Linked DNA regions of Homo sapiens: region 1 is linked to region 2. Evidence: promoter capture Hi-C in 16 types of primary human blood cells and fetal thymus (Javierre and others, 2016). All regions are on one chromosome and are shown on one strand. The core of a region is centred on a gene start or on the middle of the fragment in contact, and the rest is flanking DNA. Distances in the headings are between cores, read along the strand shown. Region 1 overlaps SAMD4A (sterile alpha motif domain containing 4A). Region 2 holds the start of SAMD4A (sterile alpha motif domain containing 4A).

The links. Contacts are between HindIII fragments. The CHiCAGO score rates a contact against its expected background, and 5 or more counts as called.
Region 1: a fragment that was not itself captured here is called in contact with the fragment with the promoter of SAMD4A in region 2 in 7 of 17 cell types (M0 macrophages, M1 macrophages, megakaryocytes and 4 more); the score reaches 8.5 in M0 macrophages.

What each region holds. Positions count from the first base shown.
Region 1 is chr14:54,669,544-54,672,930 of GRCh38, forward strand. All of the region lies in intron 2 of SAMD4A (sterile alpha motif domain containing 4A), which reads left to right. Among named protein-coding and RNA genes, the nearest start is that of SAMD4A-AS1, 17 kb to the right of the region's middle. The HindIII fragment of the contact is 717 bases long and covers 1,530-2,246 here.
Region 2 is chr14:54,565,140-54,568,776 of GRCh38, forward strand. It overlaps SAMD4A (sterile alpha motif domain containing 4A), which reads left to right and starts at 1,989. Exons shown (of 13, transcript NM_015589.6): 1 at 1,989-2,199; 2 at 2,357-2,973. The coding sequence starts at 2,778. RefSeq lists silencers at 771-900, 1,461-1,510, 1,631-1,820, 2,661-2,720, 2,961-3,020 and 2 more. The HindIII fragment of the contact is 5,259 bases long and covers 1-3,410 here.

The DNA of each region.
Region 1 (3,387 bases), core at 638-3,137, 100 kb after region 2:
GAACTCCTAGGCTCAAGCAGTCCTCCTGCCTCAGCCTCCCAAGTAGCTAGGACCACAGGCGTGCACCACTACGCCCGGCTAGCACTCCTTTCTTTAGTCCACTGTTGGTGTTGGTTTTTAACTAGGCCCCCACTAGGTATTGCTGTTCCTGCCTATAATTAGCACCTCTTTTCTCTCACACACAGAAAAGTCTGTCTTAAACATATTGTGAGCTTCAGAGCATGTTAAAGAAAGTTGTCTGTCGCTTAGTAGCATGGAAAGATGACGTTGCCAGCATGCAGGGAACGCTTTGCACCAAGAATCCCGGAGTGAATCGAATAATATTCCAGATTCTATGAATCAGAGCTGAATCATGTTTAAGTGTATGCTGCGTTTTGAGGGATTCCCTTCTGCCCCCCCAGCCCCCTGGGGTGAAAAGCACTGCTTTTCCTGTGTAAAGAAAAAACGTTCACACCCAGACCAGTGAAATGTTTTTGTGGCCACGTTGTGAACGCACTGAGTGTTTGTTGTGGCCCAACTAAGACAACTTTATAGATTAATGAAGAGTGATGTATCCTTTCTTCCGAACAGAACATTTAGTTCTCGCTCTGCCTGTCTGACCCCAAGCAAGTCTGTCTGGCCCCATCCCTCATTCCCCGCCCCCATCTGCACCACCCTCTTGTAAATCTCTTAGTACATTTTTGTGATCGCCGTCCAGTCTGTTCCTAGGCATTAAGGACTCTCTGAGCTTTGTGAAAGTAGGTTACCGTTCATCTGGTTTCTTGGAAGAAATGTGCATGTGTAAGGGTAGCTTTTCACATAAAAGACCAAAACCACGAAATCCAGGAAGCCAAGAATGAATGGGCCCAGGTGACTTGCCTTTCTTAACTCTTACAGAAAGCGAAGCTCCTTCAGGGCTAAGAAAGGCATTGCTGTGTAGAGGACGGAGCCAGACGAAGCCTGGGGGAGGCAGAACTGGGTTCAAGCCTCAGCATTATGTTTTACCAGCTTTTGACCTCGGCCAAATGACTTAACTTTTCTGAATCACAATTCCCATCTGTAAAATAAGGATAATAAAGCCTGGCTTGTAGGCTTATTGAAAGAATTACAAATATAGGATATAAAGTGCCTAGCACGTGGTATGTGATTGATGGTAGCTGTTGTTATTGCTGCAATTGTTGTCTTCATATCATTGTTACCACCTCTACAAGTAGCTCTTGTATGTGGAGGGAACAGAGGAGAACTTAACTGCTGTTGCCTCCCATGCTCATAAGACATAGCTTTGACCTTCAAGACTACCTGCATTCCTTACCAATAGCAGCTAAAATTGCTCCTAAAACAACAAAAGTAAATATAAACATTGCAGCCACATAGAGATGAACACAAAGAAGGAAGTGTTCCTCATTCCAGCAGGAGATCCCTTAGCTGAGTGAATTCTTTTTCCCCTCCTTCCACCGATAAATATTGACAGGCACCCACCGAGGATGTGCAGAGCTCAGGCGTGGCTGAGGGGACCCAAGTTGAATCAGACATGGATTCTGTCTTCAAGAAGCTTACCATCTGCCAGGAAAGATGAAAAATGAAAGATAAGTGTGGCGAAAGTGAGGCAGAAAATGGTTAGATCGTAAGAGAAAGATCACTGAAGGGCTCTGGAACTTGGAAGGAAAAAGTAATTTTAGCTGGAGTTGGGACATGGGAGTTTTATGGAAGAGGCAGCCCAGCCCAGCAGCATCACTGTTAGGGACACAGATTCTGGGGTTTGAACCTTGGCTTTACTACTTATTTGTTGTGGCTTCTTGTGCAAGCTAGGTCCCATCTCCATGCTTCTGCTTCCTCATCTTTGAAATCTGGATAATAATAGTACCTAGGGGTGTTGTAAGGATTAAGTGAGATATGGAAAGTGCTTAGAACAGCACCTAGTGAGTGCAATGGGAGTGATTGTTAAATGAGTTTGTCAAAGGACAGGTATAGATTTGGCCTTCAAGGAGAGGTGGGCAGTGTTTGTCCAGGAGGAAGCACAGCCAAGGCAGAGGCTGGGCTGAGTGAGGCACAGGGTTAGAGAAGGTGAGAGGTGCAGAGGGCAGCTTGGGACAAGTGTCAGGCCTAGAATCTTGGACTTTACTGAACACGTGGAACGAACTCAGTCTTCCAGAATTCTGTAGTGGGTGTGTGTGAAGCCTGAATCTGAACCTGTCTCAGAGTAGGTTTCTACATCTCAGTGCCAGTGAATGTGGCAATGAACCAGCTGCCAGCAGGCATGAAATCAAAGCTTGGATTATCAGGGCTCAACGCATAGGCCTGAATTGACACCTCAGGGAAGAGGTGCGACAGGGCCCTAGCAGGAAGCTGAACTTTGGGGCAAGAGAAGGGGTGGTGCTGCAGAGGCATTGGGGTGGGGGCAGGAATGGAGAGTAGTGTTAGGGGGAGATTGGGAGATGGGGAGAAGGAAAATGTCACACCATTACCCCCATCTACTGCTTCCTTTTCTGTTTATAGTGTTTTTTTTTTTTTTTTTTTCTTCAGGGTATAGTCAGCCATTCTGCTTTGGAATTTGTTTTTGTTTTTAATTTAAATTTATTTTTTTTTGAGATGGGGTCTTGCCTTGTTGCCCAGGCTGGACTGGAACCCCTGGGTTCAAGCGATTCTCCCACTTCAGCTTTTGGAGTAGCTGGGAGTACGGGCATATGCCACCACATCCAGCTGTTTTTTTTGTGTTTTTTTCCCTCTTTTAAATTTTTTCGAGCCTTGGGATGCCTGTCAGCCACTTAAATGCAGTCATCTTTACTCTTCCTAAGCGCAGAAGGGTGTACGAGGGTGGAGGGAAGGTGGGAAGATTAAAACCAACCGTGGGAGACTATTTTCAGTCATCTGCAGACGTCTCACTTTGTCATGATGTGGAATCTGTCACTCTCTGCCTCCTCTTCTACCTATCTATAGCTGGAATTCCGTAAGACTTCAGAAAAGGCTGACTAAGGTTCACAGGGCCCCTGAGAGGGTGCCCTGTCATCCTGGGATTTGTTTTCCAAATTAAAAATTGGAGGATTTGAACACTAGGTTTGATCTGCTTTTAACTTTAGCTGCATAAAGGTTATCATGAATTTTTTTTAAATCTAACTTATTAGACAAGAATAGTATTATTTTTTAAGGGTTATAAGGATGTAGGGCAATTTCTAAGACCACATGTAAGTCATTTAAAATTCTTTTTGGTACAAGGTAGCATGTAAATAAGTCTATGTATGTACTAAATCAAGATCAATTACCATAAAATGTCTGTCTGTAACATGGGAACAATGAAATGATGAAGTGCAACTGTAAAGTAATTTGTTGCTCTGAAACCAGCTATGCATCTTCCCACGAAGTGACTAAGAGTGAAATATCACCGTGTTAACAGTTAGGAGAGTGATTTTC
Region 2 (3,637 bases), core at 739-3,238:
GCTGCGCCCTCCTCGCCTCTCGCGCGGCAAGGACCTGAAGCCCCGGTGTGGCCGCGGCCCTGCGCACTCTCCAGATCCAGGTGAAGGTTGCGAGGCCTGGCGACGCCTAAGCGCTGACAGGTGGCCTCGCCCCGCCTCTTTGTCGCCCAGGGCGGCGCTCGCCTCCGCTCCAGGCCAGAAGCCGCAGCCCGCGCGCCAGGCACAGCTCCCCCGACCGGTCTCAGGAGTTCGGCCACCTCCCCGGGGAAGAGTGGGACTCAGCCAGGCGCCGGGCCGGCCTCTAGGAGCCTGCGCCAGAGCAAAGGGCATCCGGCACCCGACCCGGGCCAGGCCCTTGGACTAGGGCGGCACGGAACCTAGCGCCTGGGCAGGTCCAACCCTGCGCACTGCCCCTCAGCCTCGTGAACCCTTCGCCTCCACGACCCCCGGAACCCATCCCAGCAAGTGCGGCAGTGACCTCGGGTCTCACCGCCCGGGGGCCAAACACCTCGGCCACCCCGGGGCCCCAGAAGGGCCGAGGGTCAGCCGAGCGGACGAACCACATTCCCAAGGACAAGCAGCGGGTGGCAGCACCGCCCCCGCCCGAGCGCCCTCGGGTCCCTTTCTGCCGGGGCTCCAGTGGCTTGAGTGTCCCGACCCCTCCAGAACACGCAGGCGGCCGCAGGAAGAAATTCACCCGGACCCGTCCTCTTCCCCGAACTTCTTCGTTCCTCTCGGAGGTTCCTTCTACCCGACCCCTCTGCGCCACCAGCTCCTCCCACTCCGCTCCCCTCCCCTTTTTCTGGTCCCCACTTAGGAATCCGTCCCCCCGCCCTGCGCCGGGTCCGGGGTTCCTCCCCCCGGCTCCCCCCGCGTGCCGTCGCCGCCGCCCGGGTTCCTCTCCCCCCGCTCGGGCGCTCCCTGCCAAGCCCATGATGTAATGGTGTATGTTAATCAGTAGCATGTGGGGAGCTCCGGCTCGGGCGGCTCAGTCCTCCGCGAGCCGACACTGGAGGCAGCAGCAGCGGCGGCTGCAGCGGCCCCGACTCGAAGCACCGCACTCTCCCCGCGCCGCCCGCCCCGACGGCATGGCCCGCGGCCGGCGCTCCGGGCGCCCCCAACCCCGCTGAGAGCCGCCGCGGCCCCGGACCCGCGCAAGGGCCCCCGAGCCGCCGGGATGAGCCGCGCCGAGGTGAGCGCTCCCTCCCTACGGCCCTCGGCGGGGGACCCGCGGGTCACTGGGGGTCCCCTCCCCGGGGGCTTCCCCCTCCGCCCGAGAAGTTCTGGGAGCCGGAAGCAGCGTGTTGTTGGAAGCTAGCGGCTCCTTGAAGGCTGAGTCGCTGGGTTCTCCTCCCCGCCGGCGGCGGCCACGAGAACCGGGATGGGACTGGGGGAACCCCCGCAGCCGAACTTTCTTTGCTGTCGTTGGGGGGCGTGTGCCTGCGGCGCCGATCCGCATTCCCCGCGGGGCCGCCCCGCTGGCCGAAGGGAGCAGCGCTGCGGACCCCGGCCGTCCCCTCGCGGGGCGTGTGCCCAGCGCTGTGCCGCCCTCGGCCTGCGACGCGCGGGCGAGGCTCCGGGCCGGACAGACCAGCCCGTAGGCGGCGGCGGCAGGATGCCTGCCACACACGCGCGCACACACACACGCACACGCGCGCGCACAGTGACCGCTCCGGCCGGAGCAGGCCCAGGGAGACCTCCCGGGTGGGCTGGTGCGGCGCGGCGCGGGGGAGCCGGGGCTCTGGGTTGCGCCGCCGCCCGCTGGGCGCGGAGCTTTGGGTGGAGAGAGTTTATTTTTGTCTCGAGCTGCTGCCGCGGCTGCTCACGGCCTAAATCCAGAGGGGCGCCTGGCGGTGGAGATGCTGGCTGTTGCTGTAGATGGAGCTGCAGCCGCTCGGCTGCTTCTCTGGGAGGAGGAGGAGGAGTAAGAGGAGGAGGAAGGAACTCGGGCTGCCGCTGCCTCCGCCTCTGCTTTGCATTAGCTCCCACCCCCACCCCCGCGCCCCTTCGCAGCCGCATTGCAAGTTTTCTGCGCGGGGAAGATCTGTTGCTGGTGCTGGCGTTCTTAAGCACGGCGCCCGAGGCCACCCCAGGCGGGCCGTGAGGGGAGCACCAGCCGTTGGCAGCGGCAGCAACAGGAAGCCGCGGGGTCTCCTCCCGCACCTGGGAAGCAGGCTTCTCGCTGTTACCCGGTGGGGAATAGCCCATCTCCCACATCGGGTGCGGAGGGGGCGGAGGGGGCGGCTGGATTTCGGCGAACCCAACCTTCCGCGGGACGCCCCCTCCCCTGGCCCCAGCACCCTCTGATGCCCTCGTCCCCCCAGGGCGCGCTCCTCCGCTAGCCGAGGTCTCACTGCAGCTCTTTCTCTCCTTCCAGTGGTGATCGCCGCTCGGGAATGCGGGCGTGAAGGGTCCGAGTTGCCGCCCAGCGGGGAGGAGACCCCAGGACGCCGGAAATCACCATCCCAAAGCTGCAAGAAGGGGGGAGAAAGCATTCTTCATTCAGTTGTGTGCCTTGTGGGGGATTTTTAAAAAGTCGTTTTTTTTTTTAAAGAAACATTTCCGTGCTACTGTCTGTCATCGTCTCTGGGGAAATCAGCCAGAACCACCGGAACGTAACTGAAACCAGACAAGAGAGGCAGGAGCCCAGGCAGTACCTGCAGCGTCCGGGCACCAGAGCCACCTTGGAACAGGAACGCGTCTCCGGCCGCGGGGCTGCGGCTCCGCCAAACTTTGGGGCGGGCGGGGCGGGCTGGGGCGCCCAGGGGGCTCTGTAGACCGAGGGCGGCCCCCTAACCATGATGTTTCGCGACCAGGTCGGGGTGCTGGCGGGCTGGTTTAAGGGCTGGAACGAGTGCGAGCAGACTGTTGCGCTGCTGTCGCTGCTCAAGCGCGTGAGCCAGACCCAGGCCCGCTTCCTCCAGCTCTGCCTGGAGCACTCGCTGGCCGACTGCGCCGAGCTGCACGTCCTCGAACGCGAGGCCAACAGCCCCGGTAAGTGTGCGGCGGCCGCCGCCGCCGTCCCGCCTGCCCAACCCCCGCTCCTCCCTCCGCTTCTCTGCCTCGGGCCAGGCCGAGGCCAGTCCCTGCCAGCCGCGCCGGGACCTGGACGGCGTGGCCCCGAGGCCCTCGGAATCCACCCCCTCCGGGTGTCCCCCCACTACCGCCCCCCACCTACTTACCTCCGCCGGCCGCTTTGGGATTTTGCCCACTGTGAACTCCGTCAGCCCTTTCCGTGTGGTAGCTACGGTAGCATGAATGATTGATTTTTCTCTCATGCAGTTTCCTGGGAAATAAGTAAGTCAGGTCACGTAGAGTCTGGATTTTCTGGGTGTGTGTGTTTTTTCCTTCCTCCTCCTTCTTTTGGGCAACGTGGCTCGCTGGATTTCAGCAACACATGATAGATGCCCGGGACTGCCCTTCAGAAGCCAAGCTTGGATAAGGCTGTGTGAGGAGTACATGAAAATCCAATTTTATTATTCATTTTTCCCCACAGATATTCTGGTTTTAGAGCTTCGTCTTCAGAATAATATGCAGGTGACGCTAGAGACTAGTAAAATGACATTTGCAGCATATATATATATATATATATATATATATATATATATATATATATATATATAATGCGGTTAAGCTTACTGCTCGTGACATTATCCAT